Linked DNA regions of Homo sapiens: region 2 is linked to region 1. The links are contacts of gene promoters, found by promoter capture Hi-C in blood cells and fetal thymus (Javierre and others, 2016). All regions are on one chromosome and are shown on one strand. Each heading gives the region's core, a stretch centred on a gene start or on the middle of the fragment in contact. The rest is flanking DNA. Distances are from core to core; before and after follow the strand shown. Region 1 holds the start of CYP26C1 (cytochrome P450 family 26 subfamily C member 1). Region 2 has its middle 190 kb from the start of MYOF.

Region 1 (6,078 bases), core at 1,369-3,868:
TCATCTGCAGCCCTCACGCTCTCCTCGGTTCCGCAGCCATCTGGGCTTCCGAAGAGGTGATGGAGGCCGGCCCCAGGGGCGCCGCTGTGGGAAGGAGTCCGACCGACTGGCAGGACGCCTGCCACCGAGACCCCAAACTCTGGCGGCCCGCGCTTGCTCAGGCTGGAGCGCGTCGCGGCAGGCGCGTCCCACGGAGGTCGTGTGGCCAGCCCCAGGTCACACCAGCGAACCAGCACAGAGGCCAGGCCCAGAGCCCACCGCCACGCCACCGCCACAACGCCTCCCACCCCCGGGCCCTGCCGCCGTTCCCAGCAGAGGTGACGGACGCGCGGGGTGCGCCGAGGGCGTCCCGTCTGGGTCTGGGAGGCCCGCCCGCGCCGCGGAGCCTCGGAGGAAGGTCTGGAGCCGGGGCGGCCGTACCTTGCGTAGGCCACTGAAGGGAACGTCCAGAGGCAGTGAGAAGAGGTTCTCCACGAGCTGCTCGAAGGTCCGGGCCAGCGTGGCGCACTGCGCCTCGTCCAGCCGCAACCCCAGCAGGATGCGCGCGGCCATGCGGAAGGTGAGCGCTTTGGAGGCGTCGTAGACTGAGACCGGCCCGCCCGCCGCGCACCAGGAGCGCACCTCATGCCGCAGCGCCCCCTGCAGGCGCGGCACGTAGCGCTCCAGCGCGGCGCGGCTGAACACGCGCGCCAGGACCTGTGGGAGCGCGCGTGATCAGCGCTGGCGGCGGTCTGGCCTCATCTGCTTGGCGATTCCGGAGTAGCCAGAAGGCCAGTTCCGGTCCTTTCTCCCTCTTCCAAGCGGCCCAGACCTAAACTTCCTGGCTTTTGCTTTCGCCATTTCCCCCAGTTCTGCTCTGATGCACACAGTCCCTCCCAACCATCCAGGCTCCAGCTGCCATCTCCTCTAAGAAGTCTTCCCTGGCCCCTTTCTAGGTCTGAGTCTCCAGCGCTTCTGCTATCACAGCCACGGAAGATGGGAGATGAAAGAATCTTTTAGCGCAGTCCTAACTTTATAAACCGAAGCTGAAGGTAACGGACCCGCCCAAGGCCACCCGCTAGTTACCAGGGACCTTGGTCGGGTTCACAGTGTATCCAACACCGGGGCCCCGGCCTGGCCCATGGCAGATGCCGGGGACCGCGGATCCGACGTATCTACGGTCCATTCCCGTTTCCACTCACCTTGCGCCGCCGCCGGTGCGGCTCGCCGACCGCACCTAGCAGTGTGTGCGAGCCCAGCAGGATGTGCGCACTCTGCGGCCACTGGCTGCGCACCAGGCGGTGCTCGCCCAGCAGGATGGTGCGCACGTTCTCCGCGCCGCTCACGCGGATCACTGGCCTGCCCAGCAGGTGCGTCTTGAACACTGTCCCATAGCGCTCTCGGCGAGAACTGTGGAAGCGCGAGCCCTGCGGGCGAGGCGGAGGGTGGAGAGCTGGAACTTCTGGGCCTGGGCTGGGATCTGACCCAGACCTTCCAGCTGCCTTTTGATCACAACTTCCTGTCCCTGGCTGGCGCGTTTACAAAACAAGATCCCCAGTGGGCCTGGTATCTACTCTACGGGAATGTACATGCTCCTGTTCCTATTGGTGAGATGAGGAAACAGACTCAGAGTGAAGAAGTGAGGGCCCAAGGGCTCACAGCTGGGCCAAGCTCCAGGCTCCTTTTCTACCCTTGCAGGACGTGCTCCTCAGACCCCTTCCTAAAACCCCTTATGTTTACCCCCTGCGTTGTGTCTGGGAGTTGCTCTGGGGGGAATTCCAGTGACTTGAGGTCCCTTCGAGGGAACGGAGTATCTAGGTAAAGGCGAGAGTTGTGCGCGCTTCCCGGGGTCGTGGGCGATGGGCAGGGACTGGCTACAAATCCCATGGGCATTGAGACTGAGGAGGGTCCAGTGGGAGCCGGGGGAAGAAGGGACCGTATTAGCGCTCGGGGTCGAAGGACTGCTCACCTGAACTAACCAGTGCAGCGTTTCGCCGAAGAAGGGCCACCCCATGGAGCCCTTGGGCAGAGGCAGGGTGGAGGCCCGGTCCCGGCTCAGCATCCAGCGGAGGGTCCAGAGGTGCTGGGCCAGGCTGAGCAGCAGGCCCGCGCACAGGAGAGCAGTGCCCGCCGCCCCCAGCACTGACAGGCAGCTCAGCCCCCAAGGGAACATGATGAGCCCGCGGGGGCCAGGCCGCTCAGAGCGCAGGGAGAGCAGGGGACGCAAGAACCGGGGCGCGAGCAGTGCGCAGTGCTCACCTGTTCCGTCCGCAAAAGGCCTGGGGTTTGGGGGCAAAGCCCGAGATTTATAAGCTCAGGCCAGAACTCTGTTCTAAAAACAGACGGACGGTGAAAGACTGCAGTGACCGTGCGCCCTTAGGGAACGTGCCTTCCTCGAGGCCGGCACGCTCAGGACTTTTTCCTGGCTCCTGGGCCCAAATGCCAGTCCCTCTCGAAGGTGCCTGCTGCCTCGGGAACGCTCACTCCCGGCTCCGCGGGGCACCTCCCACCTCCTCCCGGGCTCAGCACCCTTTGGATAGAAGAAGGGAAGGAGGGCGAAAGAAGAGCAACTCACCAGTGTTGCCAACCTGGTCTGCAGACCCCCGCCCCACCTGTCCCTCCTCCAGTCGTTTAACCCTTCTTGGCCCACGCTGGACACGTTTATATAGATATTGGCTCCCCCCCTACGGACCGATCCCGGTTCACACAACGTGACGTGTCTTTGCATATTTAAAGCGCTCCACGCAGAGTGGTGATTGGAGGCGGTGGGCAGCGGCGCGCTCACGGAGGGGCTCTGAGTAGGGAGTGGCAGGCGCCGGGGCGGCTCGAGCTGGGCTGGGGGCTCGCCCCGCGAGCGTCCTCGGGCGGGGCCTGCGGGTTCGCGCCAGAGCTTCCCCGCTCTTCGCAGGCGCTCAGAAAGTGGGCGAACCCAACGCGCAGAACTGACCCGGGCTTGCGCCCCGCAGTGCTCCTGGCCCACCCCCGGCCGCTGGCTCCCTCTGCCGTCCCCGCCCTCGAGCTTCTAGGTGCCTTTCTCTCGCCACTCCAAGGTGAAAGAACTGGGCTTTTCTCTCCTTTGCTCCGACTATTTCAGGGAAACTGCAGTCGTCGACGCCTGCGTTGGCATCGCAAAAGCCCAGGAGGGATAGCGCAGCCGAGATTCTCCGACAGCTCCCCACCTCTCCCGGCTCTCTGATCTACCACGTCAGGTATCCTTCCAAAGATGGCAGTTCCACTACTGCCCTAGGCTTCATAAAGACGTCCTAAGCCTCCAGAAGCGGATACCCACGAGCACCTTTCCGGTCTCAAGGACCGAATTCATCCTTCCCTGCACATCCTTCCCTCCCTCCCCCGAGTTTGCCCGACGACTCTTGTCAATCTACATTGTTGCGTTTTGGGCTTTGTGCGTCCCATTCAAGGGTTCCAAATGCCTCAGGACTCACTCGTTCTTGTCCCTACAGTGCAACCTGGGGTGTGTGTGGAGGGGTGCAGGGTGTTTATATTATTGGTAAGAGTAAAGAGGTCCCACAGTGGTCTCCTCCAGGCAGTGCAAAGGCAGTATCTCTCTGAATCCCGGGACGTCTCAGCCAAAGCAGGGAAGACACCCCAAGTACGCTGGAAGGCTGGGTAAGGCGCGAAGGGCAGCCCCATTCCAGTCTTCAAAGAGAGCTAGCTGTTCACCGCTCCTCTCCTCCAGATTTCACCGTGCCTGAAGAACTACCATGCTTTTCATGTAATATTTTTAAAAACATTAAATACTTTGGATTAAGAGATGATCGAGAGAACAAGTGCGCATATGTATATATATGTGTGTGTGTGTGTGTGTGTATGTATATATACTGTTTTGGTGCCACTCCCATTCCAGTAACTAGGAAATAATATGCCTTTTCTCCAGGAAGCACTTGTTTTAAATCAGTAAGCTCTGAATAGACAAAATAGTAATGCATTTTCAACAACTTGCTCAATATTTTTAATATTTCATCACAAAATCCAGAGATGTACATATAATTCTTTACACTTATTTTACAGAATCAGGCATAGTTTCTTACAGGCCTAAATCCTGAAAAGGCAAAGGGAAGATTCAGCATAAATACAACAAAGGGAGAATAAAGACTGGATTTATATTGCCATTTGGACCACGGAAACATACACAAAGGAAAATGTACATTTGTTTTAGGTTTTCCAGAGTTCATTTGGTTTGGCTTGTTTCCACAATGAGGATAAAGTACTGAAATCTGCTATTTGAAGAAAGTAACCTGACCCCTGTGGTAACTTCTGTGTGCAGGAACCATCTACCCTCGCACAAGCTGCACCTGAAGTGGTTAGCCCCATTTAGTTCCTGTCCTCTCTTTTAACTGGAACCAAACCAAACCAAACAAATCCAGAATGGGGTCACCTACAAGCAATATAGTTAGAAATATTAACCCTGATGAACAGAAACAACACTGCATCTTTAGAAAATCCAAAACCTTTTGTTCATATTCAGAACGATTAAATTAAACCACCCAAGTAGAACAAATAATTCACATTCTTACTGAGTTAAATCAAGTTTGATTTCAGGCAGCTTTTAAGATTTGTCTATTTCCCCTTCAGAATTAGCAGAATTAGAAATTTTGGTCTGCTTAAATCACATTGAGGTGAAAATAAAAGCTAAAAGTCAGAAAATGGTAGTGAAATACTACCATATCAGACATGATTGAATTCCAAAGCCATATACTGATCAAAAAACAGATTATCATTCAAGTCTAAATAGAAAAAAATACTTATGAGTAGAGGCATATGTTTTTCAAATGTATTTGTAATCAATTTCATGTATAATTTGTGACAATTTATGTATTACACTTTTGCATTTTCCCCTAAAAGTGAAAAAATGGTCATTTTTTTCCATATATAAAATAGTATTCGATTATTTAAAAATCCATACAAATGATATTTATTACTATTTCTTGTTTAAGCCCTCATGTATCTTCTCTATTGTATTTTTGGATTCTGTAAACAAATTACTGTATCATGACCAATACTTGCTCAAGATCAACATTGAATCATGGATTTGGTGTCACTGAGTGCAAGCCATGTGAGGTCTACATGTGCTGGGACATACCATTCACCAAACTTCTCAGCTGTTTCACGACTGTCTCTATCAACTTCTGTTTGTCTCGATCATTCTTCCTGAACTGAGCAAATATATTGTTCTTTTTGCTAGTATCCTTCATCCTAGAAACATATGTGAATGAAGAAGCTTGGTAAAAGAAAATTAAAAGCTAAGCTGTCACAAGTAAAATATCTTGGCATGCTCTGAATTATCCCACACTAATCCTATGCTTGAAAAATATAGTTCAAAGAAAGTAGATACTAAATAAACATACAGATATAGTAACCATGCAAAAAATTAGAAGCTTTATTTTACATTCTATGTTAAGTGGTATTTTTGCATTAGTATGTACATCTAAAATATGCTAGGTTTACTACTATCATACTATTTTCTAATATTATTCCACAAAGTATGCTAAAATACATACCCTGTATAGACTCTGCTAATCATATTCATAGCAAGATAAGGTGAAAGGAAAATAACATTAGAAAATGTAAAATAGCGATGTTTTTGCCTCAGTTGCATTTCATGGCATTGTAAAATAAATTTACATTTATTTTAAACACTTCCTCTTGTCCTTTCAAATCAAATACACCACAAATATTTTGAAATATAGGAAAATAATAACAATTTTAATTTAAAATTGAAAATTTTAATAGTGATACTTTTTTATTTTTCTTATCCAGCAGCCCCCAGAATCACAGCAGATTCAGAGAGTCTCCCAATAGTGACATTTTAAATGAAATATGATTGAGTAAAGAAAAAGTCTGTCACATAATGAGAGGGAAAAGTTAACACCTAAATTTATGTTTAGTTGGACAAGATGCATCAGTAAATCCTATTACCTCAGTTTTTACTGTATTTTTTTTTTCAAATCACATATTTCTCTACCTGCAAAGAATCCAAGTCCATAATGCTAAGATTTAGGTAACACTGGTGGCAAACATTCCAATTCCTGGTCACATTTGACAAAATACCTTCTTTCCTGAGTTATAGACTTTTTTTTT
Region 2 (6,078 bases), core at 1,483-3,982, 230 kb before region 1:
GCCAATATGGCAATGCTCAATTTGATTAAAAAGGAAGAAAATATAAATTAAAACCACAATGAACTATCATTTCACATACTCCAAATTGGCAAAAAATTTAAAAGTCTTTGACATCAAGACTCAAGAGGGCTGTGCAACAACATATATTTTTATACATAGCTGGTAGATGTTTAAACAGGTAAAACCACAGTAAAAAACAATTTGTCATTATCTACCAAAGGTATCAGTCCCTGCTCTGTGACCCAGCAACCCTACTCTTAGATTTGTACCCTAAGGAGACATTAACACAGCGCACTTGAAGAAAAATTTTTAAATGTTTGAAATTGCAGAACATTGGAGAAACTCTCATGTTTTCCATTAACAGTAGATTGGATAATAAATTGAGGTATAGTCATTTAATAAAATACTATAAAGTGGTGAATGTGAGTGCACTGTAGCTACACATTACAAATGAATAAATCCGAAACCAGAGGTACGTAATCTTTTGGCTTCCCTGGTCCACACTGGAAGAAGAAGTGGGCCACACATAAAATACATGAACACTAACGATAGCTGATGAGATTTAAAAAAAAAAAATCACCAAAAAAAAAACCTCTCATAACGTTTTAAGAAAGTTTATGAATTTGTATTGCGCTGCTTTCAAAGCCGTCCTGGGCTGCATGTGGCCTCTGGGCCGCAGGCTACACAAGCTTGGCCTAGAAGGAATGTTACAGCTGGGGGAATCTAAGGGATAATTCTTCCCTTATATCCACAGCATAGAAGCCCTGAACATAACTCCTAGAAATATTTTTTCTTTAAAAATTTTAAAATTCATTTATATTCACTGCAGATACTTTATTGGGAAAAAGCATAAAAAAGAACATTAAAAATCCATAATCTATCATGAGATAACTACTGTTAACATTATTTTGTGGTGTTTCCTTCTACTCTTGCCGTTTTTAAAGACATAAAATTGGGATCCCACCTCCAGAACTTCCCTGGCCTTGCCTTCATGATTCTCCAAGGCTTTTGTTTGTTTTTTGTGACAGGAGCTTGCTCTGTTGCCCAGGCTGGAGTACAGTGACACAATCATGGCTCAGTGCAGCTTTGACCTCCCCAGGTTCAGATGATCCTCCCACTTCAGCCCCCCACGTAGCTGGGACTACAAGCACGCACCACCATGTCTGGCTAATTTTTGTTTTTATTTTTGTTTTGGAGAAAAGGAGTTTTGTCTTGTTGCCCAGACTGGTCTCGAACTCCTGGGCTCAAGTGATCCAACCGCCTCAGTCTCCCAAAGTGCTGGGATTACCGGCATGAGCCACCATGCCTAGCCAACTCTCCAGTTTTATATCTTGCTTTTCTTCCCTCTCTTAAAATTGTATTTCATAGGCCGGGCACAGTGGCTGACGCCTGTAATCCCAGCACTTTGGGAGGCCGAGGTGGGCGGATCACGAGGTCAGGAGTTCGAGACCAGCCTGGCCAACATAGTGAAACCCTGTCTCTACTAAAAATACAAAAATCAGCTGGGCATGGTGGCGCGTGCCTGTAATCCCAGCTACTCGGGAGGCTGAGGCAGGAGAATCGCTTGAACCCGGGAGGCAGAGGTTGTGGTGAACCGAGATTGCGCCACTGCACTTCAGCCTGGGCAACAGAGCGAGATTCCATCTTAAAAAAAAAAATTGTATTTCATAAACATTTTCCACAATTTATGAATTTCAAAACCTAATTTATAATGGTCATTTAAAATTCCATCACATGGATCTACTCTAATTTAATCCCCTATCACTGAGGATATATGTAACAATATATATTGTTTCCAATTCTTTGCTATTTACAATGCTGCTTTAAACATCCATGGACAAAGATCTTTGCCTGTATTTTGGGGCCTCTAGATCTATTAAATTGTTAACAGTATAAGGTCAGGGACAATGTTTGTCTTGTTCACCCAACCTTGTGCATGAGATAGAGCAGCATCAATGAATGGGCAAATGAATTTCTTATTCATTCCTGAGTCAAAGGGGAATTCCTGAGTCAGAGGGCACGAGCATATTTAATGCCCTTGAGATACATTGCCAGTTGCTTCCTGAAATGTAGTACCAATTTATACCCCGCCCCAAGTAGAGTCTTGAGAAGGTTCCAGCCAGAATTAATGGCCATTCCTTAGCCACTCTTTCCATCTGCATGGGGTGACTTTCTCCACCTTGATTGCTGGCCCTCAAACGCAATGGGGAAGAAGGGGCCTGCCACAAGTCTGTTTTGAGGACCTCCTGTGGGGACAGTAGTCTCCCCTCTGGGTCGGGAGAAGTAGAGAAGTCCTCCAGTGCCCTTTAGAAAGAGCATGTACTTGGACTCTTTGCTCTTGGAAAATGTGAATTCTACTAAAGAATCCTCAATATGCTTCAAGTACGCTGAGCAAGTCCCCATCCAGGACGCTAAGATCTACAAGTCTGTCTTGAAGCCTCATCAATTTTCAAATTAAACTTCTTCATATTTCTTTTAAAAAGAGGAGAGGGCACTTTGAGTTCACTCACAAAAAAAGACAAAAAGTAGAATCAAGCAGTAAAATAGAATTTCCACAAGATTAAAATAAAGGTATAAGAAGAAAAGCAAATGTTCTAAGAGTCAATGTACTGCTCTGATTTGGGTTTAAAAAGTGACTTGGAACATCCGTGAGGGGAATATTTGTCCTCTGGCTGTTCTTAACTGGTTGGTAATATGAAAGGAAGATAAATCTTGGGACCTCAAAATCATTAAGCCAAAGGGAAAAGTCAAGCTGAGAACTGCTTAGGGCAAACTTGCCACCCATTCTATTCCTAAAAAAGATATTTATTAAAGGCCAGGCGCAGTGGCTCATGCCTGTAATCCCAGCACTTTGGGAGGCCGAGGCGGGTGGATCAGTTAAGGCCAGGAGTTCGAGACCAGCCTGGCCAACATGGTAAAACCCCATCTCTACTAAAAATACAAAAAATTAGCCAAATATGGTGGTGGGCATCTGCTACTCAGGGGGCTGAGGCTGGAGAATCACTTGAACCTGGGAGGTGAAGTTTGCAGTGAGCCAAGATCACGCCACTGCACTCCAGCCTGGGAGACAAAGTGAGACTCCATCCAAAAAAATAAATAAATAAAAGATATCTACTAAGATAAAAAAGCTACATACCTCCGTCACAAGGAAATTTGCTGTGGACAAAGGACAGACAGAACTCAAAGTCATCCCTCTGCTGAGATAAATGCATATCTGGTTGCCTCCTTTGAAAAGTCTCATTAGAAACTCAAAAGAATGCAACCTTTGTCTTGTGAACCCCAAATATCTGAGACAGGTCTCAGTCTATTTAGAAAGTTTATTTTGTGGCCGGGCTCGGTGGCTCACACCCATAATCCCAGCACTTTGGGAGGCTGAGGCGGGCAGATCACAAGGTCAGGAGATCGAGACCATCCTGGCTAACACGGTGAAACCCCATCTCTACTAAAAATACAAAAAAATTAGCCAGGCGTAGTGGCAGACACCTGTAGTCCCAGCTACTCGGGAGGCTGAGGCAGGAGAATGGCGTGAACCCGGGAGGCGGAGCATGCAGTGAGCCAAGATTATGCCACTGCACTCCAGCCTGGGCGACAGAGCAAGACTCCATCTCCAAAAACAACAACAACAACAAAAAAAAAAAAAAAAAAAAAAAAAAAACAAAAAAAAAAAAAACAGAAAGTTTATTTTGCCAATCTCTTAACTACCTATGATCTGGCCCTTCCCACTTTGAGTTGTCCTGCCTTTCTGAATGGAAACATATATTAATTCATGTCTCATGTCTCCTAAAACGGATAAAACCAAGCTGTGCTCTGACCACCCTGGGCACATGTCGTCAGGAACTCCTGAGGCTGTGTATTGGGCACGCATCCTTAACTTTGGCAAAATAAACTTCCTAAATTGACTGAGACCTGTCTCAGATTTTAGGGTTCATTGTAAAAACATACAGGCCTTCAGAAAAAAAGTTATTATACCAAAAGTGACAGAAATGGCTCATCAGGATCTTAGCGCAGGTCCTACATTTGTGAAGCTCCCATTAATATTCACTGTTCTTCTTATTTTTTTTTTTTTTTTGAGACAGAGTCTTACTCTGTCGCTCAGGCTGGAGCGCAATGGTGTGATCTCAGCTCACTGCAACCTCCCCCTCCCAGGCTCAAGCAATTCTCATGCTTCAGCCTCCCAAGTGGCTGGGATTACAGGCACCCGTCACCCTGCCCAGCTAATTTTTGTATTTTAAGTAGAGACGGGGTTTCACCATGTTGACCATGCTGGTCTTGAACTCCTGACCTCAGGTGATCCACCTGCCTTGGCCTCCCAAAGTTCTGGGATTACAGGAGTGAGCCACCGTGCCCACCCTTGTTGTTCTTATTTGTATATTTGTAGAGGGCAGAAATGTTTCCCATAACAGCTTTTAATAAAAGTCAGAGAATACTACAAAAGCAGTCCTTTGAAGAACTATGCTGAGATGGCTGGCATTCATACCTATTTCAAAGAGTACAGCTTTTAAATTCTTTCCCAAATATTTTTCCTTTCCCTGAGACGTTTGATAATGATCCTGATGGTGAAAAGATCAAAGCTCTGCTCTCAGGGAGGACGGGCCTCCAGGCCCTTTGCTGCTGCCGGGGGACATCTCTGTGAGCCCAGCATGCAGGTGGGGGTGGCATCCAGAGGTCACACCTGGGTGGAAGCCACGCCACCTCTGCGCAGAAGTGGGTCCATGCCAGTGCCACATGCACATACTCGCTCAGGCTCCTGCAGGCATGCTTGTTTCAGAAGCTTTCCCTCACTTGAGGGGGCCATCATTCATGCCCTTTTCTCACTCCCGACCCGGTCACAAGCCAAGCTTCTCTGTCCAGAAGGCTGGCACATTCAGACAGCATGATGATGGAAAAATATGAATACTAGTGAGACTGCTTTCTCTGCAGTACTCCTGACCTCAGAACAAACATGCCAGTGCTGGGGACACACACCATGCAGGTCCAGCAATCAGACCTCCTTGCAGTCACAAAGGGCAGTAACTTCGCGGGCTGCTGGGGACAGTCATGGGACATTGGTTGCTGCCAGGCATTTTAGAAGGGCCCGAAGAGGACACTTCTGTTTGAGCTGAGTCCAGGCCTCCTCTAAGGTGTCTGAGTCATCTCTGTCACCTCCTCTAGAATCCATCCCCTCACTCTGCTCTTCCTCTCCCACCCTCTCCTCCCTCTGCTGCTTTCCTCTCTGTATCTCTTGTCTCTCCATTTTGTCTTTAGCCCTTATAGGTGTTGTTACTGGTACAGTACAGGTGGTACCGGTGATGCTGGTACTTAAAGCTGGGAAACCTGCCAGCCCCCAACAGGAACAGAGACTCTGTCCTCTTCTTTCCCTGTCCCTGAAGCATCTGGCCTTGTGCCTGACCAGTGATGAGTGCGCCATACTCAGGTCTTGAATCAAGGAGAAAAGATGGCTACCCTGAGTTCAGTCACTCTGTGTGACATTGCTTTATATACTGGCATGACATATGACCCTTGGTGAACTTTTACCCAAATAGCCCAATACAAAGGGAAATTGACTAAAAACCTTTAGGTTTTGCCTGGAGGTTTAAAGCTTTCTGAAAGCCTTGCTTTAATTTATACATTTATTCTAATTCTTGCATTCCATTTCACAATCTTTTTACTTTAATCAGCTTTGATTCTGTCTAGTACTGCCTCAAATGAAAACTGCCTGTGTTTTCTTCATCCAACACAGAGGATACGTTGGGGGCAGTCCAACTTAAAATAGAGGCTATATGGCATATGTGATATTCACTTTGTGTTCCCTTCCATTCCAGAGAGTCTCAAAGAGAGAGGCTATTTCTCCTCCACCCTTTACATCCCCAGCTGCAAATAAATTGCTTCACATTCAAGCAACTCTGTGTCAAGTGCTCCAGGGTAAGTAGCAAAGAAATGTCTGTACATATAAATTCAATAATGGTTGGCTGGGCGCGGTGGCTCACGCCTATAATCCCAGCACTTTGGGAGGCCGAGGCGAGCAGATCATCTGAGGTCAGGAGTTCCAGACCAGCCTGGTTAACATGGTGAAACCCCATTCCCACTAAAAAATACAAA

The links. Contacts are between HindIII fragments. The CHiCAGO score rates a contact against its expected background, and 5 or more counts as called.
Region 2: a contact is called between a fragment that was not itself captured here and the fragment with the promoter of CYP26C1 in region 1, in 5 of 17 cell types (M1 macrophages, M0 macrophages, M2 macrophages and 2 more). The highest score is 9.0, in M1 macrophages.

Annotation. Positions count from the first base shown.
Region 1 is chr10:93,057,338-93,063,415 of GRCh38, reverse strand. CYP26C1 (cytochrome P450 family 26 subfamily C member 1) reads right to left here and starts at 2,618. Exons shown (of 6, transcript NM_183374.3): 1 at 1,949-2,618; 2 at 1,182-1,406; 3 at 421-696. The coding sequence starts at 2,152. EXOC6 (exocyst complex component 6) reads right to left here. Exons shown (of 22, transcript NM_019053.6): 22 at 3,926-5,193. The coding sequence ends at 5,061. RefSeq lists enhancers at 438-607, 618-737, 1,691-2,600. The HindIII fragment of the contact is 6,240 bases long and covers 1-5,220 here.
Region 2 is chr10:93,290,117-93,296,194 of GRCh38, reverse strand. No RefSeq gene overlaps it. Among named protein-coding and RNA genes, the nearest start is that of MYOF, 190 kb to the left of the region's middle. RefSeq lists an enhancer at 5,621-6,078. The HindIII fragment of the contact is 4,082 bases long and covers 692-4,773 here.